5 separate regions of the Homo sapiens genome follow, and all the other regions are linked to region 1. The links are contacts of gene promoters, found by promoter capture Hi-C in blood cells and fetal thymus (Javierre and others, 2016). All regions are on one chromosome and are shown on one strand. The core of a region is centred on a gene start or on the middle of the fragment in contact, and the rest is flanking DNA. Distances in the headings are between cores, read along the strand shown. Region 1 holds the start of SMIM12 (small integral membrane protein 12). Region 2 overlaps ZMYM4 (zinc finger MYM-type containing 4). Region 3 overlaps ZMYM4 (zinc finger MYM-type containing 4). Region 4 has its middle 4.2 kb from the start of ZMYM4. Region 5 overlaps SFPQ (splicing factor proline and glutamine rich).

The links. Contacts are between HindIII fragments. The CHiCAGO score rates a contact against its expected background, and 5 or more counts as called.
Region 2: a fragment that was not itself captured here is called in contact with the fragment with the promoter of SMIM12 in region 1 in 3 of 17 cell types (fetal thymus, naive CD8 T cells and naive CD4 T cells); the score reaches 7.5 in fetal thymus.
Region 3: a fragment that was not itself captured here is called in contact with the fragment with the promoter of SMIM12 in region 1 in 2 of 17 cell types (fetal thymus and non-activated CD4 T cells); the score reaches 6.4 in fetal thymus.
Region 4: a fragment that was not itself captured here is called in contact with the fragment with the promoter of SMIM12 in region 1 in 4 of 17 cell types (total B cells, total CD8 T cells, erythroblasts and 1 more); the score reaches 7.4 in total B cells.
Region 5: a contact is called between a fragment that was not itself captured here and the fragment with the promoter of SMIM12 in region 1, in 1 of 17 cell types (fetal thymus). The highest score is 6.5, in fetal thymus.

The regions. Positions count from the first base shown.
Region 1 is chr1:34,857,072-34,861,974 of GRCh38, forward strand. It overlaps SMIM12 (small integral membrane protein 12), which reads right to left and starts at 2,678. Exons shown (of 2, transcript NM_138428.6): 1 at 2,606-2,678. RefSeq lists a silencer at 2,500-2,629. The HindIII fragment of the contact is 6,874 bases long and covers 1-3,358 here.
Region 2 is chr1:35,302,013-35,306,915 of GRCh38, forward strand. All of the region lies in intron 1 of ZMYM4 (zinc finger MYM-type containing 4), which reads left to right. Among named protein-coding and RNA genes, the nearest start is that of ZMYM4, 36 kb to the left of the region's middle. The HindIII fragment of the contact is 6,308 bases long and covers 1-4,903 here.
Region 3 is chr1:35,282,985-35,287,887 of GRCh38, forward strand. All of the region lies in intron 1 of ZMYM4 (zinc finger MYM-type containing 4), which reads left to right. Among named protein-coding and RNA genes, the nearest start is that of ZMYM4, 17 kb to the left of the region's middle. The HindIII fragment of the contact is 1,700 bases long and covers 1,825-3,524 here.
Region 4 is chr1:35,262,010-35,266,912 of GRCh38, forward strand. No RefSeq gene overlaps it. Among named protein-coding and RNA genes, the nearest start is that of ZMYM4, 4.2 kb to the right of the region's middle. The HindIII fragment of the contact is 1,924 bases long and covers 1,425-3,348 here.
Region 5 is chr1:35,182,381-35,187,283 of GRCh38, forward strand. It overlaps SFPQ (splicing factor proline and glutamine rich), which reads right to left. Exons shown (of 10, transcript NM_005066.3): 8 at 4,823-4,871; 9 at 4,621-4,742; 10 at 556-2,213. The coding sequence ends at 2,076. Among named protein-coding and RNA genes, the nearest start is that of SFPQ, 8.3 kb to the right of the region's middle. The HindIII fragment of the contact is 2,849 bases long and covers 1,348-4,196 here.

The DNA of each region.
Region 1 (4,903 bases), core at 1,428-3,927:
CGGCAGAACGAAACTCCGTCTCAAGAAAAAAAAAAAAATCCTATCTTCAACCAAACCCATACCTTCATATTTACATAAAAAGCTCCTGAAAATATCACAAATCATTATACATACTCTGGATACCGCAGAACCTGAAGATTTTCTGTGAAAAATCACTGTACAAGCCCGGGGGGTGGGGTGGGGTGGGGTGGGGCGGGGAGCGGAGTGGAATGGCCTCAGGGCCTCCTGAATTGAAGTAGGGCAATACCAAAGTAATGTAAAAACACACAAATTGGATCACTCTAATGGCCAATTCCATCTCAAATGATTATTACCATTATCAATTATCAAAGATCATTCACAGTTATAATAACACAGCTACCATTTATTGAGCACTTACATGCCAGGCCTTGGGCTAGGTGCTTCATATACACTCACTCTCTTAATCCTCATGTCCACCACGTGAGGTAGATACATAACCCACTATCAGAGGGTTAAGAGACTTGCCCAAAAGTATCCACTAAAAGATCTTTCTGTTTATGCCCCTGTAGGTATTTCTCCAACACTACTATCTCTGATCTAAAGTGAACAATCGAAACCTCACCAAGGATAAGATGATTCTCCCCCTCTCTCTTTGGTTCCAATTCTCTTTGAAGGAATCCCAATGTTCTCTAGACGTAACACTATAAGGCAGCGGTCCCCAATCTATATTTGGCACCAGGGACCAGTTTCGTGGAAGACAATTTTTCCACAGATGGGGGTTGGAGAGGGATGGTTTCGGGATGAAACTGTTCCAGCTCAGATCATCAGGCATTAGATTCTCATAAGGGGCACACAACGTAGATCCCTCACATGCGCAGTTCACAATAGAGTTTGCACTCCTGTGAGAATCTAATGCCGCTGCTGATCTATCAGAAGGTGGAGCTCAGGCGGTAATGCTTGCCAGCTTGCCCACCGCTCACCTCCTGCTGTGCAGCCCAGTTTCTAATGGGCTGAAGACCACCACTGGTCTGTGGCCCAGGGGGTTAAGGACCCCTGCAATAAGGCAGCATCATGAAATTTAAAAAAAAAAAAAAAATTGCAGCATCTCCAAGACTCCCCCGCTTATTGTCTCAGCACCAGGCACTATGATGACAATTTACACACTAATCATCATTTGATCCTCATAACACCTCTATGATGTAGGAATTATTAGCCCAGACTCTTGTGAAGGCCACAAAGGCTCACAGACATTATGTTAACTTATCCAAGATCACTAGAAGTGATAGAGCCACTGATTTTGAACCCAGGCCTCTCCAATTTCAAAGCCTACACTCTTTCTAGTGGGAAGAACACACTGCAGAGGTATACGGTTTCTGTCCAAACCCTGGACTTAGGGAGAGCTTCCTACAGTTTTTTCCCATCAGCCTGGCATTTCATTACCTAGAAGAGCTTTCCTTTTCCCAAACTCTGAGATTGTACTCAGGGATTTATGAAATTCAGAGACATAGTAATAGTTAAAAGAGGCACCTCTGAAGAATCCCAAACCTAATACTTCTCCATTTTACTTCCACCTTTAAAGCAAGTCCTCTGTATAAGTAAATGCTTCCCTAAATAGCAACTGTCCGTTCAGATTTCCAAACCTGTCTTAAAACATATCGCGCATGAGTTCACAACTATCTCTCACATGCAGCATAAAGTCTCTCGCTACCGTCCTGCTCACATTCTAATCATTCCCAAATAAGTCAATTCATTCCTTTATTCGACACTTATAACCACTTACTCTGTGTCAGGCACGATGCTGGCTTACCCTGTCTGCGTTTCTCAAGACACTTTAAGCTCCAAAAGGCTAAGAACCGTGTCTGTCTGGCCCAATTATGCCCTATCCATCCAGGCACCTCTCCTACCCTGCCTGGCAGAGTGCCCAAAAAAGGTCTGCTGAACGAATGAATGACAGCCCAAACTCCCTAGTGTAAAATCACAACATCCTCCACCCACTCTCCCCCAAAAGGTGGCAGGAGCATAACAGATGCCTTTGCTGATTACAAAAACCTAAAGACTCCATCATAGTCGTCCCCAGGCAGGGTATCACAATGAAAGAGGCAAAAGTGTCTGAAAAACACTGTGACGCATATTTCCAGCCCGGCATGGAGGACGTCTGCCAAAAGCATCCGGTAAAGGTCAACTGGGCTGCTGGGAAACCTGCCCCAGTGCGAGGGCCCGGAGGCCCAACGAGGCCAGAAGCCGTAGTCCCAAATTCAAGAACTACTAACAAGGACACAGGAGGCCTGAGAAGGCGGAAGAATTAGCCCTGACAGTCACTAGAGCGCAGTCCAGGAATGGGAGCGCAAGTAAGGCGAAGGTCCATCCAAATGGCTACCCTTCTCCCTTCTGTGAGTCTCCCGGTCCCCTGTCCCTAGCCCACCTCATTCATGGCCTCATCAACGTCCGTCCTCATTGAGGTGCCGAGAAGCCCTGTCTGCGGAGGGCTACCTGGGCTCCCAGACTTGGCACCAGAACACCCGCCAGAGAGGGGAGCTGGCAGATCTGGCCGGGACCGGGGTGGACCCTAGCGATCACTCCTCCCGTAACTCAGAGGTTACTGGCCTGGGCTGACCCGACCTGCTCGCCGGGACCGCGCGCTCACCTGCGGCCCAGCCCACACTCCCCAGTGCGGCCCCCGCTCTCCGCCCGCTCGCCGGGAGCACGGAAGTCGCCGCACCCAGCGGCCCGCGGGACCTTGCCCTGTGACCCTGCCCACTGGCCGCCGGCTCTCTCGGAGCGCAGGGATTGGCTGAACTTCAGCCAAAGGACGGAAGGAAGCTAGGCGTCCGCAACTGGGCCCCACTGCGCTGAAATGGACGTCGCGCCCTCTGTTGGCCGGGAGGTTTCTCAGTGATGTCGCCACGTGTTTTCTGCGTGGAAAAAGTGAAAGATCATCCAGTCATTTTTTTCAACTGATGTTTATTAGGCGTCTTCTAAGACCTAGGTCTGGGCACGCAAAAACAAAAGACATGATCCCTGACCTCAAGAAGCTCTTCTTAGAAGAGTATATTTTAGTGCTTTAAGACCTCTTGGGATCCGGGCTAGCTTTCTAGTGACCTTGGGAACATTATTAACCTGTCTGAGCCTCCCTTCCCCTTCTGTGTAGAGGTAATAACACCCATTTCGCAAGGATGGTGTGAGGGTTGGAAGAGATAATATTTGTAAAGTACTGTGGCAGGCACACAGCCAGCAGGGAAATAAATGTGGCTATTGTTAGTGTAAAAATAATTCAAATATAGTAAAACCTAAGTCTTACATGACCTCTTGGGTACAAGTATTCACTTCCTCCTCTGTGTCCCCACTGTACCCTATACAGACATCAATTTTATCATATACAGAAAAGTCCCAAAGCTCAAGCTTGTTAATGCTCCCACAAGGCCCTTCCCACCCTCATCCCACTAATCTCAGCCTGCATATTTATTTTGCTCGCACATACTAAACCCGGCAGACCACACTGTTTCACACCTCAGTGCCTTATTGATGCTTTTTCATCTACCTTCCCACCTTTTTTGTTGTTGTTGTTCAATTTCACTCTTGTTGCCTGGGCTGGAGTGCAATGGCGTGATCTCGGCTCACCGCAACCTCCGCCTCCCAGGTTCAAGTGATTCCCCTGCCTCAGCCTCCTGAGTAGCTGGGATCACAGGCATGCACCACCACGCCCGGCTAATTTTGTATTTTTAATAGAGAAGGGGTTTCTCCATGTTGGGGAAGCTGGTCTCGAACTCCCGACCTCAGGTGATCTGCCCGCATCGGCCTCCCAAAGTGCTGGGATTACAGGCGTGAGCCACTGCGCCTGGCCGCTTTTTTTTTTTTTTTTAACAGGACTCTCGCTCTGTTGCCCAGGCTAGAGTGCAGTGGCACAATCATAGCTCACTGCAGCCTCAACCTCCTGGGCTCAAGTGATCCTCCCACTTCAGCCTTCCGAGTAGCTGGGACCACAGATGCACACCACCAGGCCTGGCTAATTTTTGTACTTTTTGTAGAGACTGGGTTTCACCATGTTGCTAGGGCTGGTCTCGAACTCCTGAGCTCAAGCAATCCGCCCGCCTCAGCCTCCCAAAGTGCTGGGATTACAGGCATGAGCCACCGTGCCTGGCCATGTAGTGCCCTTCCCACCTTTCTTTACTATGCCAGATTGTGCTCTGGCACAATTTTCAAGCTTAAGGGTCACCTCCAGAGGAAGCCTCATACATAGACTGCTTATCACATTAGACACCCTTCCTCTATTATCTCAAACAGCTCAAAGCTAAGCTCTGGCAGTGAAGATGGAGAAAAGGGAACAGTATTGTAGGGGCCAAGGTTCACTGAAAATCAACTGACAAAAGGCAGATTAATAGGAGAAAAGACATACAAAATTTTATTTTAACGTGCATAGCACGGGGCGGGGAGGCGAGGGGGTGGGAAGGGAAGGGTCACAGGAGAATGATTACCCAATAACCCAATGGGGTACAGAAGCGTATACACTCTTTTTCATAGGGGAAGGGGAGAGATGGAGAATATAGACAATTCTTCTGAGGGCAGCAAGTGATTCTTAGGGCGAAAAAATGGACAGAAATTAACTTGTAAATGATTCTCTTTAGAATTTGAATGAGCCCGAGAAACAGGCATCATCTTGTGAAAAATCCATCCAGGCGTAGTTGCCTTCCTCAGTCTTCTTTTCTGAGCTAGATGAGATTTCGGAGAGGGGAGGAAGGCAATTTTGTTTCTTTTGGAAAGACGTTTTCTCGATCAGATTAGGAAATTCTAGAGAGAGTGCCTCCCTATACTTGGGAGAGAAGGTTAGAGGGACCTTGATTCTGAGGCAGCTTCGAAGGCCTCTCAGCATGTCAAAGCGCCAGTCTTTGGGGTATCGCTTTCTGAGCCCCAACAGTACAAATAAATATTTAGGAGACCGTTGTTA
Region 2 (4,903 bases), core at 912-3,411, 440 kb after region 1:
GTTTAAGGCAGGAAGGTAAATCCACTCTCTGTTACTTCATAATAGCCGAAAAGTTGAAATCCTGTTCCATTCATTTTTGTTGTCTGAGCGCAGTCTCTAGAACAAGGGTCAACAAGCTGTAGCTCACAGGCCAAATTCTAGTCGGTAGCCTATTTTTGTATTATCCACAAGCTAAAAACGGCTCTTGCTTTTTTTTTTTTTTTTTTTTTTTTTGTGACAGGGCCTTGCTATGTTACTCAGGCTGGGGTGCAGTGGCACCATCACAGCTCACTGCTGCCTTGACCCCTGGGCTCAATAGATCCTCCTGCCTCAGCCTCTGGAGAAGCTGGGACTACAGGCCTGTGCCAGCGGACTGGCTAATTTGACTTTTTTTTTTTTTTTTTTTTTTTTTGAGATGGAGTCTTGCTCTGTTGTGCAGGCTGGAGTGCAGTGGTGCGATCTCAGCTCACTGCAAGCTCCGCCTCCCGGTTTCATGCCATTCTCCTGCCTCAGCCTCCCGAGTAGCTGGAACTATGGGTGCCTGCCACAATGCCCCACTAATTTTTTGTATTTTTAGTAGAGACAGGGTTTCACCATGTTAGCCAGGATGGTCTCGATCTCCTGACCTCATGATCCGCCCTCCTCGGCCTTCCAAAATGCTGGGATTACAGGTGTGAGCCACAGCGCCCAGCCTAATTTGACTATTTTTTTGTAGAGATGGGATCTTACTATGTTGCTAAGTTGGTCTCAAACTTCTGGGCTTATGTGATCCTCCAGCCTTGACCTCCTAAAGTGCTGGGATTACAGGTGTGAGCTACTGCACCCAGTCTGGCTTTTGCATTTTAAAGAGCTGTTTTTAAAAAGAGAGCCTGATGTGGTGGCTCATGCCTGCAATCTCAGCTACTCTGGAGGCTGGAGGTGGGAGGATTGCTTGAGGCCAGGAGTTTGAGACCAGCCTGAGCAATACAGGGAAACACTGTCTCCAAAAAAAAAAAAAAATTATCCAGGGCATAGTGACCACGCCTATATTCCTAGCTCCACCAGAGGTTGAGGTGGGAGGATCACTTGAGTCTAGGAGTTCGAGTCCAACCTGGGAAACCTGGCAAAAAAAAAAAAACAAAAAAACCTTGTCTTTGCAAAAAATCCAGAAATTAGTTAGGTGTGGTGATTGCCTGTAGTGCCAGCTACTCTGGAGGCTGAGGTGGGAGGATCAGTTGAACTTGGGAGGTCGAGGCTGCAATGAGCTGTCATGGTACCACTGCACTCCAGCCTGGTGACAGAGGGATACCTTGTCTCAAAAAAAAAAAAAAAAGAAAAGAAAAAAAATTGCTTATAGTATTTCTTTATATTCCTTGTAATGTCTGTAGATTTGTAGTGGTGATCTCTCTTTCATTCCTGATATTGGCAATTTGTGTTTTTTGTTTGTTTGTTTGTTTGTTTTTGAGACGGAGTCACCCAGGCTGGAGTACAGTGGCACAATATCGGCTCACTGCAACCTCCGCCGTCTGGGTTCAAGCGATTCTCCTGCCTCACCCTCCCAAGTGGCTGCGACTATAGGCACGCACCATCACACCGATCTAATGTTTGGATTTTTAGTAGAGACAGGGCTTTGCCATGTTGGCCAGGCTGGTCTCAAACTCCTGACCTCAAGTGATACATGCATGAGCCACAGCGCCCAGCCTATATTGATCTTTTGATAGAACTCATTTTTGGTTTCACTGATTTTTATGCTGTTCTTTATTTTCTATTTAATTTATTTTTGCTTTTATCATTATTTGATTGATGTTTGCTTTTATCTTTATTATTTCCTTCTTTCCACTTATTTTGGGTTTACTTTGCTTTCTTTTCCTAGCTTCTTGATTTGGCATCCTTCTTTAAGTTATATCAATAACTTATGGTTTAAAGCTATAGACATTTCTAAGCCCTGCTTTAAGTGCATCCCCAAACTCTTAGTAAGTTGTGTTTATATATCATTCAGTTCAAAATATTTACTGAGTTTTCTCTGATTTATTTTTCTACTTACATTACCATACAGTTTCTTTTTTTTTTTTGAAACGGAGTTTCGCGCTGTCGCCTGGGCTGGAGTGCAATGCCATGATCTTGGCTCACTGCAACCTCCGCCTCCCACATTCATGCGATTCTCCTGCCTCAGCTTCCTGAGTAGCTGGGATTACCGGTGCATACCAGCACACTCGGCTAATTTTTTGTATTTTTAGTAGAGATGGGGTTTCACTATGTTGGCCAGGCTGGTCTCGAACTCCTGACCTAGTGATCTGCCCGCCTTGGTCTCCCAAAGTGCTGGGAGTACAGGCGTGAGCCACCGCGCCCGGCCATACAGTTTCTTTAGAAGTATGCTTAATTTCTAATTTTTGATATTGTAATTATCTTGTTTTATAGTGATTTCAAATTTAATACCACTGAGGTCAGAGAATGTATTTTCTATTATTTCAGTTATTTGATTTTTTTTTCTTTTTTTTTTTCTTTGAGACGGGATCTGGCTCTGTCATCCAGGCTGGGGTGCAATGGCTCGATCTTAGCTTACTGCAACCTCTGCCTCCTGGGCTCAAATCATCCTCCCACCTCAGCCTCTTAAGAGTACCTGTGACTATAGCGTGTGCCACAATGCCTGGCTAATTTTTTTTTTGTATTTTTTTTTTTTTAGATATGGGGTTTCACCATGTTTCCCAGGCTGGTCTCCAGCTTCTGGCCTCAAGCAATCTTCCCACCTTGGCCTTCCAAAGTGATAGGATTACACGTGTGAGCCACCACTCCCAGCCTCAATTATTTGATTTCTATCGATGCTCTTTTTTTATGGTCCAGCATATAGTGTATCTTGGTGCCTCCACAAGTAAACTTTATTTTTTATTATTTTTTAGACAGAGTCTTGCTCTGTCCCCAGGCTGGAGTGCTGTGGCGCAATCTCAGCTCACTGCAACTTCTGACTGCCTGGTTCAAGCGATTCTCCTGCCTCAGCCTCCTAAGTAGGTGGTATTACAGGCATGCGCTACTACGACCAGCTAATTTTTGTATTTTTAGTAGAGATGGGGTTTCACCATGTTGGCCAGGATGGTGTTGATTTCCTGACCTCGTGATCCATCCGCCTTGGCCTCCCAAAGTGCTGGGATTACAGGCGTGAGCGACTGCGCCCAGCCCACAAGTAAACTTTAAAAAGTGCATACCAAGTTATTAGGTGTAGTGTTTCTATAAATACCACTTGGGTCAAGTTGGTTGGTAGGGCTGTAAAAATCTTCTGTGTCTTACTTGTTTTTTTGTCTTGTTCTAACTGACAGAACTATAAATCTGCAGCCACAGTTGGAGATTTTACTTATCTCTTTAGTTCTGTTTTTTGCTTCATGTATTTTGAAGTTGTATTGTTAGTTGCTTCACATATAGAGTTATGTCTTGTTGATGATCATATTTAGTGACTCTATTCTTTTTTCTTTCTGTTTTTTTTAAGATTTTTTTTCTCAGGTGATCTCTCAGCCTCCCAAAGTGTTGGGATTACAGACTTGGGCCACCATGCTTGGCTGAGTGACTCTATTCTTGTCATGTTTTCTCTTCTTTTTTTTTAGAGACAGTGTCTTGCTCATCACCCAGGCTGGAGTGCAGTGGCGTAATCATAACTTACTGCCGCCTCGAACTCCTGGGCTCCAGCAGTCCTCCCATCTCAGCCTCCCAAGTAGCTGGAACTACAGGTACACACCACTGTGCCTAGCTGAGTTTTCTTATTTTTTGTGGAGATGGGATTTTTCTTGCTTTGTTGCCCAGGCTGGTCTCCAACTCCAGGCCTCAAGTGATCCTCCTTCCTTTGCCTCCCAAAGTGTTGGGATTACAGGTGTGAGCCACTGTGCTGGGTGCATACTTTCTCTTTAGGCCTCCTATATCTGAGATTAATGTGGTTATATATAATATCAGGGTTTTTTTATGCTTAGTGTTTGGATTGACATGTGTTACCCTCCCCACCCTTTGACTTTCAGTCTGTGTCTCTATGTGGGTTTTGCCTTTTTCTGCAGTCTGACAGTTTGTAATTGTTGTGTTTATTCCTTTTAGACTTAATGTAGTAATTACATAGTTGGATTTAAGTCTTCTGTCTTCTTATTTGTGTCTTATTGATGCCATTTGTTCTTTATTCTCGCCTTATTGTAGGTAGATTGCATTTTTTCACTGTTCTATTTTGAGTATTTAGATGTATTCCTTTGTATTTAGAGGTTATTGTAAAGATTACAGCATGCATCTTTTAAGTTATTATCTTTAAAAATTATATCATTTATAGAACCTGTAGAATAGTATATTTCATTTATCTCTCTCCCTTCCTTTTTCTCCACCATATTTTAGGGCCTTGTCTTATATTTTCCTTCTATGAATGCTTGTTTATTTTTATGTATCAGTAAGGTCTCACGAATTCTTTAATCAGTGTGTCATGATCCATTGTTACCAGTATTCATTTTGATACTCAAATTATCCCATATTCAGCCTGTGGGAGCCCCTCTAACCTACCTTCTTTTTGTTTCATTTTATTTTTTAAAATATCCATTAGTTTTTTGGTCTTTACTTACTTTTTAACACAATAAGATGTTCCAGAGTGATCTTTTAAATTCTTTAATCACATTATGGCTCTACTTAAAATTTTTCAGTGGCTTTCCAGTAACCATATGATAAAGTTCAAAATCATTCAAGGTTGGGCATATATGGTCCTGATTATATATTTAGTTTTATGTCTTGTTTCTTTTACACCTATACTCCATTTCTTCTGTTGTGGACCTCCTCTACTAAAACTTTCTTACCTTTCCCTATAGCAAATGCTTTTTCATCCTTCTGATCTCATGGATGCCTTTTAAATTTGTAGACTAGGTTAAGTCACTGCTAAATACATTTCATAGCATTTTCTTCTTCCCCTTGATACCATTCATCTAACTATGTAATT
Region 3 (4,903 bases), core at 1,425-3,924, 430 kb after region 1:
TTTTTTTTTTTTTTTTTTTTTTTTTTTTTTTTGAGACAGAGTGTTACTCTGTTGCCCAGGCCGGAGTGCAGTGGTGCCATCTCACCACACTGTAACCTCCACCCTTCACCTTCTGGGTTCAGGTGATTCTTCTGCCTCAGCCTCCCAAGTAGCTGGGATTACAGGTGTGTGCCATCATGCCTGGCTAATTTTTTTTTTTTTTGTACTTTTAGTAGAGATGGGGTTTCACTGTGTTGGCCAGACTAGTCTTGAACTCCTGACCTCAAGCGATCTACCTACCTCGGCCTTTCAAAGTCTTTTATTTTTGGTTAATAACTGTCCTAGTGGGTGTGAAGTGGTATCTTTTTTTTTTTTTTTTTTTTTTTTTTTTTGAGACGGAGTCTTGCTCAGTCGCCCAGGCTGGAGTGCAGTGGCGCAATCTCAGCTCACTGCAAGCTCCACCTCCTGGGTTCACGCCATTCTCCTGCCTCAGCCTCCCGAATACCTGGGACTACAGGCGCCCACCACCACACCCGGCCAATTTTTTTGTATTTTTAGTAGAGACAGGTTTCACCATGTTAGCCAGGATAGTCTTGATCTCCTGACCTCGTGAGCCACCCGCCTCGGCCTCCCAAAGTGCTGGGATTACAGGTGTGAGGCACTGCACCCGGCCTTGAAGTGGTATCTTACTGTGGCTTGGATTTGAATTTTTCCAGTGACTAATGATGCTGAACATTTTTTCATGTGTTTATTGGCCTTTTGTATATGTTCTCTGGAGAAATGTTATTTAAGTCCTTTGTGCATGTTTTTTAATTGCACAAATTTAAGTCCTTTGTGCATGTTTTTTAATTGCTTGTCTTTTTTGTTGTTGAGTTTTAGGAATTGTTTTTATATTCTAAATATTAAACTCTTATCACAAAAATAATTTACAAATATTTTTTTCCCATTCTGTAGATTGTCTTTTCACCCTCACGATAGTGGCCTTGATGCACAAAAGTTTTTTTGTTTTTTTGTTTTTTTTTTTGAGACGGAGTCTCGCTCTGTCGCCCAGGCTGGACTGCGGACTGCAGTGGCGCAATCTCGGCTCACTGCAAGCTCCGCTTCCCGGGTTCACGCCATTCTCCTGCCTCAGCCTCCCGAGTAGCTGGGACTACAGGTGCCCGCCACCGCGCCCTGCTAATTTTTTGTATTTTTAGTAGAGACGGGGTTTCACCTTGTTAGCCAGGATGGTCTCGATCTCCTGACCTCATGATCCACCTGCCTCGGCCTCCCAAAGTGCTGGGATTACAGGCGTGAGCCACCGCGCCCGGCCAAAAGTTTTAAATTTTAATGAAATCCAATTTGTGTTTTTCTTTTGTAGCTTATGCTTTTGGTATCATATTTAAGATGCTATTGCTAGATCTAAGTTCATGTAGATTTTTCCCTATGTTTTCTTCTAAGAGTTTTAGTGTTTAGGTCTTTAATTTAGGTCTTTAATCCATCTTGAGTTAATTTTTGTTTATGGTACAAAGTAAGTGTCCAGTTTCAATCTTTTGTGTATGAATATCCAGGTTTCATAGCACCTTTTGTTGAAGAGCCTGTTCTTTCCCCATTGAGTGGTCCTGGAAACCTTGTTGAAAGTCAGTTGACCATCGTATCAGTTTGGGCTGTCGTAACACAGTATCATAGTCTGGGTGGCTTAAACAACAAATTTATTTCTTACATTTCAGGAGGCTGGGAAGTCCAAGATCAAAGTGCCCACAGGTAGGTTTTATTTTCAGGCCTTTTCTCTTGGCTTGTAGGTAGCCACTACCTTGCTCTGTGCTCATGTGATTTCTTAGTGTTTGTGAGGTGAGAGAGAGTGTAAGCTTTCTGGTGTTTCTTCTTAGAAGGGCATTAATCACATCATGAGAGCTCCACTCTCACTACCTCATCTAGCTGATTACCTTTTAAAGTCCCCCTCTCCAAGTATTATTACATGGGGGGTTAAGGCTTCAACATATGAATCTGGGGAGGAGGGATACAAACATTCAGACCATAACAACGACAAATGCGAGAGTTTATTTCTAGACTTTCAGTTCTGTTCTATTTGTCTATATGCCTGTTCTTGTGTCAGTACTACACTGTTTTGATTACTGTAGCTTTGTAGTAGGTTTGAAATTAGGAAGTAGGAGTCCTCAAGTTTTTTTTTTCAAGATTGTTTTGGCTATTTGGGGTGTGTTGAAATTTCACGTGAAATTTAGGATGGTTTTTTCCTATTTCTGAAAAAAGAGTTATTAGGATTTTGACAGGGATCAAAATTGAATTTGTAAATCAAGGGTAGTTACTGTCATCTTAACAATGTTAAGTCTTCCAGTCTGTGAACATGGAATGTCTTTCCATTTATTTTGGTCTTCTTTTATTTCTTTCAGCAATGTTTTGTACAGGTCTTTTAGTGTACAAGTCTTGTGCTTCCTTGGTTAAATTTTTCTCAAGTATCAATCAGTATAATCTACCACATTAGTAGAATGAAGAAAAAAAAGAACTCACTACAGTCTGTCCTTTGTATCTATGAGTTCCACATCTGCAGATCAAAAATATTTGGAAAAAAAAATAAAAGGTAATACAAATTTATTCCTTAATCAAGGACCAGAGGAAAAAAAATACAACATTTAAAAATAGAGTATAACAACTGTTTGCATAGTATTTGCATTGTATTAGGTGTTATAAGTAATCTAGAGATGATTTAAATTGTATAGGAGGATGTGTGTAGGTTATATGCAAATACTATATATAAGGGACTTGAGCATTCAAGGATTTTGGTATCTTTGGGGGGTCCAGGGTCCAGTCCCCCACAGATACTGAGGAATGACTAAATCATCTCAGTTGATGCAGAGAAAGTATTAAAGAAAAGCTAACATCCTTTCCTTTGTAAAAGCACTTTAATAAACTAGGAAAAGAGGGGAATTTCCTCAACATGATAAAGGCTACCCATGAAAAATCATTGCTTACATCATATTCAGTGGTGAAAGACTGAGAGATTTTATCCTCAGATGAGGAACAAGATGAGGATGCCTTCTTTCACCATGTCTATTCAGTGTAGTATTAGAAGTTCTAGCCAGAAGTTAAGCAAGAAAAAGGAAATAAAAAGCATTCAAATTGGACAGGAAGAAGTAAAACTATCTCTATTTAAAGGTGACATGATCTTATACGTAGAATACCCTTAAAGTTATGCCAAAAACAAAACTGTGCAAGTTAGTAAGAAATTCAGCAAAGTTGCAGGATATGGCATCAACACACAAAAATCAGTTGTATTTATGTACACTAGAACAATCCCAAAAGGAAATTTTAAGAAAACAATTTCATTTACATTAGAGTCAAGAAGAAAAAAAAAATACTGAAACACCTGTATCCCTTTGACTTAACTCCAATAGTCCTTGAAAGATTCCTCCCCGTCCGCCAAAAAAATAGAACCAGGCTCATCTATACATACGCTACTTCAGACCTGGAATTAACTTGTTTTGCAAGACGCCTCAGTACCTTTCAGTGGAAGATGTTATCTGGAGACCACAGCCTGAACTCAGACAAGCTTTTTGAAGTTAGAATCTTTATGAGATGGTGTAAGTTGCTTATTTCCCATTCACTCCTGAGCCTGCCTGCCTCTGTCTGCCTATTTTTTTTTTTTTTTTTTTTAAGAGACAGGATCGTACTCTGTTGCCCAGGTTGGAATGCAGTGGCATGATCACGGCTCACTGAAGGCTTGACCTCCTGGGCTCAAGCAATCCTCCCACCTCACCCACCTGAGCAGCTAGGACCACAGACAATACCCTTGTGCCTGGCTATTTAAATAATTTTTTTTTTTTTTTTTTTTTTTTTTTTTTTTTTTTTTGTAGAGACAGGGTCTCCATATGTTGTCCAGGCTGGTCTTGAACTCCTGGGCTCAAGCAGTCCTCCACCTCTGCCTCCCAAAGATTATAGGTGTGAACCACCCTGCCTGGCCCTAGCTTATCTTTCTGTTTTGGCACTGAAATTCTTCTCTTTAGGAACACTGAAATGATCTAATAATCACCAAATCTAATGGATGCTTTTCAGAGATTATTTTATTTGACTTTTCTTAGATCTTTATTTGACCTTTCTTATTTCTGTTGCCCTTCCTTCCTCGACTTTTTCCTTGTTTTATGAGATGGCATTCTCATGGTTCTCCTCTTGAATTGCTCTTTTTGCGTGCTCAATAAGTGTTATTCCCTCAGCTTGTATTTTCTTGAGCAATCTCTTCTACAATAGTGGTTTTACTTAATTTTTTTTTTTTTTTTACTTAGTATTTTTTAAGAGATGGGGTCTTGCTATATTACCCAGGCTGGCCTTGAACTCCTGGCCTCAAGTGATCCTCCTTCCTTGGCCTCCCAAAGTGCTGGGATTACAGGCATCAGCCACTGGCTTATAGTAGTAGTTTTAGGATCTACCCATTAAGTACATTATGTGATTTCCATTTTACTTCTTCGCTTCTGTTTTTGTCTTTAAAACTAAAAATCTTGTGTTTTTGCTGTCATACAAATACTGCAAATTCACTATGTCTACAACTGAACTCCTACTTCCTTCTTCCCTGCCAATTACTTGCTCACACACCTAGTGCCCTCCCCTTCTCAACTTGTTATTTTTCCTATTTATTTTATTTTTATTTTTATTTTATTTTATTTTTTGGGGGACGGAGTCTTGCTCTGTCACCCAGGCTGGAATGCAGTGACGCAATCTCGGCTCACTGCAACCTCCATCTCCCGGGTTCAAGCGATTCTCCTGCCTTAGCCTCCCATGTAGCTGGGATTACAGGCATGCGCCACCATGCCTGGCTAATTTTTGTATTTTTAGTAGAGATGGGGTTTCACCATGTTGGTCAGGCTGGTCTCGAACTCCTGACCTCGCGGTCTACCAGCCTTGGCCTCCCAAAATGCTAGGATTACAGACGTGA
Region 4 (4,903 bases), core at 1,137-3,636, 400 kb after region 1:
TGCCCAGCACTTTGGGAGGTAAAGGTGGGAGGACTGCTTGAGGCCAGGAGTTCAAGACCAGCTTGGACAACATAGAGAGACCCCATCTCTAAAAAATATTTTAAAAATTAGCCTGGAGTGGTGGTACAGGCCTGTAGCCCTAGCTACTTAGGATGCTGAGGTGGGAGGATCCCTTTAGCCCAAGAGTTTCAGGTTATAGTGAGCCATGATCACACCACCATACTCCAGTCTGGGCAACAGAACAAGACCCTGTCTCTAATATAAATAAATAAATAATCAATCAATGAACTGATATTTAGCTTCCTTTGCAGAAAAAAACAATAATTATGATAATTCTAAAGAATGCATGTCCGAGGGACTAAATACCAGATGGAGAACTGACTTCTAGAGTTGGATTTACCCCAGGATGCGTGATTTCTTTTTGACCTGCCTGGTTATCTACTTCCTGGCTCTTCTCTACTGTCTCAGCCTCATCTCCATGGTTTGTCTCAGCTTGGAGGGAGAGGTTTTGGAAGCCATGTCCTTTATTTTATTTTATTTATTTATTTATTTATTTATTTATTTATTTTTGAGATGGAGTTTTGCTCTTGTCGCCCAGGCTGGGGTGCAATGGTGCAATCTCAGTTCACTGCAACCTCTGTCTCCCAGGTTCAACCGATTCTCCTGCCTCAGCCTCCCGGGTTCAAGTAGCTGGGATTACAGATGCCTGCCACCATGCCCAGCTAATTTTTGTATTTTTAGTAGAGACAGGGTTTCACCATGTTGGCCAGGCTGGTCTCAAACTCCTGACCTCAGGTGATCCACCTGCCTCAGCCTCCCAAAGTGCTGGGATTACAGGCATGAGCCACCGCGCCTGGCCCATGTCATTTATTTGACCTTTCCAATGTATTTGGTCATGGTTTACTATTTTTAATGTGCATTAGTGATTCCCATCTTTTAAAAAAAGATTTCTTGGGCCACATTCCTCTCCAATAGCACTCTATCTCTCTAATCTTTTTCAAAGTGAAACTTCTTGAAAGAATTGTTCACATTCACTGTTTCTATGTCTTCATCTCTTATTCTCTCTTCCAGCCACTCCAATCATGCTTATGTTTAAACAAATCCACTGAAATAATTCTAGTCCAGATCACTAAAGATCTTTCAATCGTATCATCAATTCTTGGGCCTCATCTTACTTGTCCTCTCAGTGACATCTGAAAAATTAGTAATTGAGCCTCTCCCAAAACAGTCTTTATTTGGTTACTGAGACCACAAATTCTCCTGACTTTCCTGCTACTTGGCTGATTCTCTTTCTCTTCCTGAGCTGTAAATGTCGGGGTGCCTCCGGATTCATTTCAATATACGTGCTCTTGGTAACTCTATCAAGTCTATGGCTTATATCAATGACTCTCATATTTCTATCTCTAGCCCTGTTATCTCTCCTAAGCTTCAGATTTGAATATCTAACTGCTATTCGACATTTCCACTTGGATGTCTAGAGGCATCTCAAATTTATCATGTCCAAGACATCTTCCTTCTTTCTCTGCCCACTTTCTCACATCTGCTCTCTTTTTTTGCATTTCAAATAATGGGCAACAGCATTAACCTATCTATTCAGGCTAAAAAGCTAAGAATCATCCCTAAATCACTTTTTCTTTCACTCCCAGCACCCAATTCATTAGCAGCAATTCCATGGGCTACGCCTTCAAAATACATATATTCTGAATCTAATTTTTACTATCTCCAACGCCAATGCCCTAGGCTAAGTCATTGTTATCTCTTACCTGGACTGCCACAAAGCCTCGTAACTTACATCCACCCTTGCTCCTTTATGGCTTATTCTGCAATGCACATGGTATCCAGAGGGTTCACATCATTTTTTTTTTTTTCAAAGACTTCAATGGCTTTACATCATACACAGAAAATTACAAATCCTTACCATGGCATCCAAGGATCTTCATAATTTGTCTTTGTCTGCTTCTCTGACTTCATCTTCTGCCCCATCTCACTTGGTCCTAGTAACATCGGCACCTTGCTTTTCTTGAACACTTCAAGTTTGTTCCTGCCAAGGGGTTTTACACTTGCTGCTCCCTTTGACTGGAATGCTCTGACCCAGACATTTGCACAGATGGCTCTCAGTCATGAGGTCATGATTTAAGTTTCAGTTCAAATGTCACCTCCTAGCCAGGTGCGATGGCTCACAGCTGTAATCTCAGCACTTTGGGAGGCCGAGGTAGAAGAATCACTTGAGCCCAGGAGTTTGAGGCTCCAGTGAGCTATGAAGGTGACACTGCACTCCAGCCTGGATGACAGAGCAAGATCCTGCCTCTTTTTTTTTTTTTTTTTTTGATACAGCGTCTCACTTTGTCGCCCAGACTGGAGTGCAGTGGCACGATCTTGGCTCACTACAACCTCTGCCTCCTGGGTTCAAGCAATTCTCCTGCCTCAGCCTCCCGAGTAGCTGGGATTACAGGCATGTGCCACCATGCCCAGCTAATTTTTGTATTTTTAGTAGAGACAGGGTTTCACCATGTTGGCCAGGCTGGTCTGGAACTCCCGACTTCAAGTGATCCACCTGCCTCGGCTCCCAAAGTGCGGGGATTACAGGCATGACCCACCGTGCCCAGCCAAAACCCTGCCTCCAAAAGAAAAGAAAAAGAAAAACAAAGTCACCTCCTCGGAAAATATTCACTGACTAACATATCTAAAGTAGCCCCACTACAGTTATTTTTTATCCCACTTGTTTTACTTTCTTCCTAACATTTTCTGAATGGATCTACCTAAATGTCCAATGTAGTTTAAAACATATTTGAATCTAATGGTTAGAATTCTGTTAGTTAATAATTTCTTTTGGAAAGAAACACTGTATCTTTCCTGTGGCTGCCCTCTCCCTCTGAGTGAGTATCTAAAATAACGTCTGCATTTATGAGGCATTATGACTTTGGGGAAGCCTGAGACCTTGAATCTATTCGGAGTCCCTGACCTCTCAGGATGCTCTACAGCCTGTTGTTAAGAGAGTGGAATGTTTTGTAGCCTGGCCTCGCTAAGTTTGCTCAGAGCCTGAAGGCAAACCACACAGCTCTTCCTGAGGTCTGGCTGTTACTACTTTTTGTTCCTGGCCCAGTGTAATTTACAGAGCTACTTCCTCCTATACTTGCCAGCCAGCATTCTTGGCTACTTTCCGTATTCTTCTACAGGGTATGTGGGAACTTCTGGATATCTTCTCTCGCAGGAGCTAAGGACCACTCACTTGCAGAGCTCCGCCCAAAACCCTGTACCTAATTTTGTGTATGTAATTCTGTGTTCTTTTTCTTAAAAACAAAACAAAACAAACAAACAAAAAAACCCTCCCTCTCCCCCCATCATGTAAGCTTCAAGATCTGTAAAACCTGGATTCATCTCTGGCTGAGAGACACTCTGAGGAGCTAAATGCAGACCTGCTCTTTTTTCCCAACTACATCAGGGCATGACTTTTGCTCATATGTGGCTGTCTGCTTGTTGGTATGGGCATAGTCTGCAAGTCATCTCTACTTGGAATCTTAAACAGGAGCAGAGTAAGAATCCTCTCTGCCTTGAAGAGCTGGAATGGGAAGACAGGAGCACATGTCTCTCAATGATGCCTCTCTTACTTTTCTCTTTGTTCTTCTTCTCTCTACCCTTTTATTAAAAGAGTCAGACTTTTCTTTTATTTCCCTATATGCAGCCTCATGGCTTAGCTGTCCTGGATGGAAGGATATTTGGGTGGAAGGCATTTCCTGTGGAGTATGTAAAAACTCTATGAAATTATTATGTGCTGAGCTTCATAGATTAAATGGAACTAAGAAAATTTAGCAAATTCTTTTTCTCTCCATTCTGTTCTCTCCTGATTGGGAAAATAAGTCTCAAGGCTACATTTCAAGCAAGAGTCTATGACAGAAGATGACTTAAGAAAGTTAAAAGAAATCTGTTTGATATTTGCAAGATACTAGCCCCATTATAGTCTAGTTTTTTTTTTTTTTTTTTTTTGAAACAAGTCAGAGCACTGAACTTGTAGGTGAAATATCCCATTTAAAATGTTGATATATGATTTAACTTTTTTTTTTTAAAAAAAAGATAATGGCCGGGCGCGGTGGCTCACGCCTGTAATCCCAGCACTTTGGGAGGCCGAGGCAGGCGGATCACAAGGTCAGGGGATCAAGACCCTCCTGGCTAACACAGTGAAACCCAGTCTGTACTAAAAATACAAAAAGTTAGCCGGGCATGGTGGCGGGTGCCTGTAGTTCCAGCTACTCGGGAGGCTGAGGCAGAAGAATGGTGTGAACCCGGGAGGCGGAGCTTGCAGTGAGCCCAGATCGCGCCACTGCACTCTAGCTCGATGACAGAGTGAGACTCTGTCTCAAAAAATAATAATAATAATAATAATGATACTCATATGGTATTAGGAACCAACAGTGTTCTAGGAGATTTAGAGATGTTAACTAATTTAATCCTCTTGGTGTCCCATTTTACAGATAAGGAAAGTGAGGCACAGGACAATTACCTTGACCAAGATCATATAGCTATACACAATACAAATCAAATGCATTTCTGTGGGACAGATTTGGTCACAAGGCCACCAATTTACAATGTCTACTTTACGATATTTCAAATAAGTCAGAAAGAACAAGGCTTTGAATTCTGACTTGGCCTCTGTGCTGAATGATCTTGGACTAGTCACTTAAGCTCTGTGAATCCTTCTATAAAATTATGATTAACTTTTCAGTGCTCACTAAATGGTTTTCTCTTGTCTTATTCCTCCATATGGATGACTGCCCTGAACATTCATGTTATGCTTGTATATTATCTGAAATGCACAAATCCCACCTATTATTCGAGACCTAACACATTGCTAATACCTCCAGAAACAGTCTGTGTAGGACAGAGCCCTGAGGATCAAGATGTCTGT
Region 5 (4,903 bases), core at 1,522-4,021, 330 kb after region 1:
GTAAAACTACTCATATTTCCGAGTGTGCTGGTGAATGATATAATGAGCATTACTTTCTAATGAGATTCTCTCCCTTAGCACACCATGTACCTGTCAGTCATACAACCAGTATTTGGTGAGATGCTTTTATACACTAGTGTTTACTTTCAGCATTATCCTGTTTCCTATGCAGAAAGTGCTCAGATTGTTCCAACAATAGGTCTCCTTTTGTACACAGGCACAATACTAAACTTCAGCATGTTAATAAAGGTTTGACTTAGAATTTTTCTTTTGCCAATTAGCACCAAGAAAAGAGGTGAAAAGGAGGAAGACACATTCCATAGTAAGAATTCTACAATGTACAGATTTGAATGGAACGTAACTCAGAACAAAGCCAAACCATTCAATTACTTTACCTACTGTTAGGAAGCTGTTCCTCTAACATATTTACACTGGGAAATCAGGCTCCCATTATACTAACAGGCAACAATAAACAATCTACTTTAATAGTCAAAGTCTCTTGTTCTAATGGAAGGGGGTTCAATGAAGTTGACAATTAACTGACAACACCATGGAAACATTCCAAGCCTTTATGGTGGGAGGAAGGGATATTTGTACTGTGTAGCATGAGCAACTTTCTCCAGATTTAGTGCTACATGAAAACGAAACTATGTGAAAACAAGTTAAATTTACAATAAGAATGATTATCTGCAACCCTATTTGTTAACAATCACCACTAGCTCTTAGAAGAGAACCAATAGATTTTTATAGTCCTATAGATTTTGCCCAACAGAAGTAGCACAAGGAGATGTAAAAGTTACAGAGTACAAATGTATATATAACTAAACCTACTTCAGTACTAAACCTTTTTTTTTTTTTGAGACAGAGTCTCGCTCTGTTGTCCAGGCTGGAGTGCAGTGGCAGTCTCAGCTCACTGCAACCTCCATCTCCAGGTTCAAGCAATTCTCCTGGCTCAGCCTCCCGAGTAGCTGGGATTACAGGCGCCTGCCACCACGCCCAGCTAATTTTTTGTATTTTTAGTAGAGACGGGGTTTCACCATGTTGGCCAGGCTGGTCTTGAACTCCTGATCTCATGATTTGCCCACCTCAGCCTCCCAAAGTGCTGGGATTACAGGCGTGAGCCACCGCGCCCGGCCCAGTTACTAAACCTTCTTACTTTCAAGTTTTGTTTTTTAGACTACACCCCATCTTTATAAATCACTTGAATACATGAAAAGACTTCATGTTTAACATCTTTAATTCAAATGTAAAAGTTCAATACAAGCCATTTATAGGGCTTGAGATTTGTTGGTCTTTTAAAAACAAGAAATGGGGAAATGCAACAAAATGACCTTTCCACTTTTCAAAAGCTTTCAAGTAAAGGATAGATCATAGGGCCATAAAAGATCCATTTAATCAAACCCACTTTCACCCCCTACCAATTGTCTTACACCCATTCCACAATCTTAATACATATTCCTGAAGATTTACAGTTCAGCTTTGCTTACATAACCATTTAAAAAATACTTAGCACCAGCGTGCTTCCTATATGCCAAACAAATCATCAAACTACTTCAATATGCATTTCTTCTTTTTAAAACAAAGGGGGCAATTATTTGTAGAAAGCAATACTTAGCCTCCAGATGCATTTCCCAGAAATGGCATATGCCATTCAAAGGCCTAGACACTCTCATGCTTTCAATGTGGAATACGTAGCCTAATATGCATAGAAGCATGAATGGCAAAGTTGAAGATCAATATTATAACTATTTTTCTATTTATTTGAAGCACAGTAAAAAAAAAAAAATTGGTACACTTTGGAAATTCAGTGGCACAAGGTACACTGCCATAAACTTGAGGGACATTATACAGTAAAAAAGAAAAAATAAAGAAATAAAAAGGAAAAAAAAATTCTCCTGTTCCAAACACTGCATTACATAATTTTACCTGCCCAAACAGACCATTTACAAATATTAGGTCAATAAACTGCTAACATCCATAAAAAGATAGCTTTCTTACTAAAATGCAAGAATTTAAAAGATTGGTATCTAAACAAAAAAACAAAACAAACTGGAATGAAAGCCTAAATATCACATCTAAAATCGGGGTTTTTTGTTTGGGCCTTCGTACTCTTCTCTCCCTCTACCATATCCTGCTGGAGTTCCAGGCCCCATTCCTCTAGGACCCTGTCCACCCACAGGCCCCGCACCTCCCTGCCCAAAGCGCTCAGTACGCTATTGGAACAGTAATTAACAGTTCATTATAAGTAGTTGATGTCCATGTGTGTTAAGTAAATATTTTAGAAGGTTCCGTAGTCAACGTTCGTCGATACAATCACCAATGAGTCGATCCACAGGTACCGGGAACATAGAAAGGAAAAAAGGGTAATTTGAAAATTAGTTTACGGTAATACATGCCTTGTGGTATGTTCCCACTTGAGCCATTCTCATACACCTGTTTCAAAGAACAGATCTTCCCTGTAGTGCTAAAAAATTTAAGAATTAGTGCAGATGTGAAAATCCATTCCAAAATGAGTTCTAAGAAATTTCACATCAGATTAACCCACTGAAAAACTTGCAAACTCTCACTTTCAACGTCTGAACGGAAATTTAATTTCCAAGTAAGCCTAACAAGCCCAACCAGAGATTCAATTCACTCAATGAAGTGACAAAGACCTACTCACCAGTTAGTGGCATGTGCTGCTTAAGAAACCTTGTGCTTTTCAAGATCTTAAGACACATCTGCTAAGTTGCAGAAATCTTAAAAGGTTGAAAGTTTTAATAAAATGCTACCAGACTACAAAAAGAAAAAGCATAAGACTATAGATTTAGTCACTTAACCGGCACAGTAACTTGATCAAAAAAACTTATGTTGCCAAATTCTCACAGGCACACTACCTTCCGAGCCATCACTATATAACCAGAGACAATTACGTTCTCAGTACTATTCTATATTGTTGCAAACTAAATGAACAAACCCCACCCACCTTCATCAGTCCATCTTTTCCCTTAGGTCTTTGAAAAGTGCAGACACTTTGCTGTAATTCCATGTTTTAGACACTTCCCGAACAGTGAAACACGAAGCTAAAGTAACTGCAATAAAGCAGTGAGTGACTTCACTATTCCCATCTAGTTTTAGGTAATTCTGGAGATAGAAGTTTTCAATAGAAACATATGTGCCTAAATAGCAGACCCCTCAGGTATGCAAACACAGCAGCCTACACTTTTTCTCATTCCATTTATAATAGACCAGTTACTAAGAGTATTACTCCAAATAAAAAACTAAAAGGGCATCAGGGTTTAACTGTTCCTATACACAATTTCAACATTCTTTTAAACAAAATACTATTGAGCTACTCAACATGACTAAACTTTTATCCTTTGTTTTTCAAAATCTTATAAATTACAGGGTTTTTGGCTCATTGTTCTGTGTTCTACCTCTAAGAACTTAAAAAAAAGAAAAAGTTGGGGCTTTCATAATTATGTTAATTACACCAGCTGAGAACCCAGGAGCTATCAGCTACCTGTTATCTAGAATATAAACCTTTAATTGTGAGAACATAAGGTCAAATTAGATTTTACACATTACCTAACAATCTGTCTTTAGGAAGAATATAAACCAAAATGTTACCCACATACTCTGAAAAATCTAAAGAAAGCCCATAGTATTACATTTTACCCAACCAGCCATTTATAATTCTAACTTTAATTCCCAAAAAGTCTTAGGTAGATTATAAACAGGTGAGGCCTTATACAAAATCCTTATGTTTCTATTTATAAAATGAATCTTATGAGCTACTCACTGCAGCTCCCCTCCTTTGCCAAAAGCCTGTAGTGAACTCATCACATTCAACTCAGCTATAAAAATGCACTCTCTAAACCCACCAAAATTCAGTCCTAACGATTTGTAAAGCCCTAATGCAGCCACTCATACCAGTTCAACTGATTGTTCTAAGCATCTGACAGGCTATATTCACAGCTGAAACATGATAGCATCAAGAAGGTTCAGATCAAATGCACACCATTAGTATGCTTAAAAATTGTTGATTTTTGCTACTCTGTAGCAAAATGGAGATGTCAGTTGATTTTAGAAGGTATACCTACAGACAGGCCCAACAGGTGGGAAACGACGAGTCAAAACACTCAATTCCCTTTTCATAGGATAGAAGCCACACCAAATATAGGTCAAAGTCCTACACATCACTAAAACGTGCCTAAAGCTTCAAACTACAAGTCTGATTCCTACTTATGGCAAATACCAGCTTAAAGAATGAGTTTGCCATTTGATTATTCTCACTTGGATGTAGAATAATCAGATACATTATCTAGCATCTAGAATTTGGATTTGCCATGCACTAGAGTTCAAAAGCACCTAAATCTACTTATTGCCAAAGGTAATTCCACATAATACTAACAGCATTGACTCCTTGTTGGCAACCGTTATCTGTTTAGGTTACCACACACCGAGTTCTTCTATGTTGCCAAAGTATTCCTCAATATTACATATTTATGTATGAAATTGGTAGGGGAAACTAAAAGAGGTCCAGTCACCTACTTAAAAAAACAAAACAAAACAAAACAAACACACCTAAGTTGTGAAAATGAGAATTTCCTTGGTACTACGTCCCACAGGATACATTACCATGTCACTTCCCATCATGGAACCACTCATGGTTGCTGGTGGAACGCCAGGATTAGCTTCATAACCTATGCCACCACCACCTCCTAGAGGTGGAAATTTCTGGCCTCCTGAACCATAGGGATCTAGAAAACAAAAATAGTGGTTACAACTCCACCAGGATACTACTCTCTACTTATATCATTAATTTAAATTTCACACTTACCTCCCATGTTCATTGCTCCTCCGCCACCCATTCGCATGTCTCTTTCCCGCTGCAAGAAAAAAATTCCTTTCAATATACCTG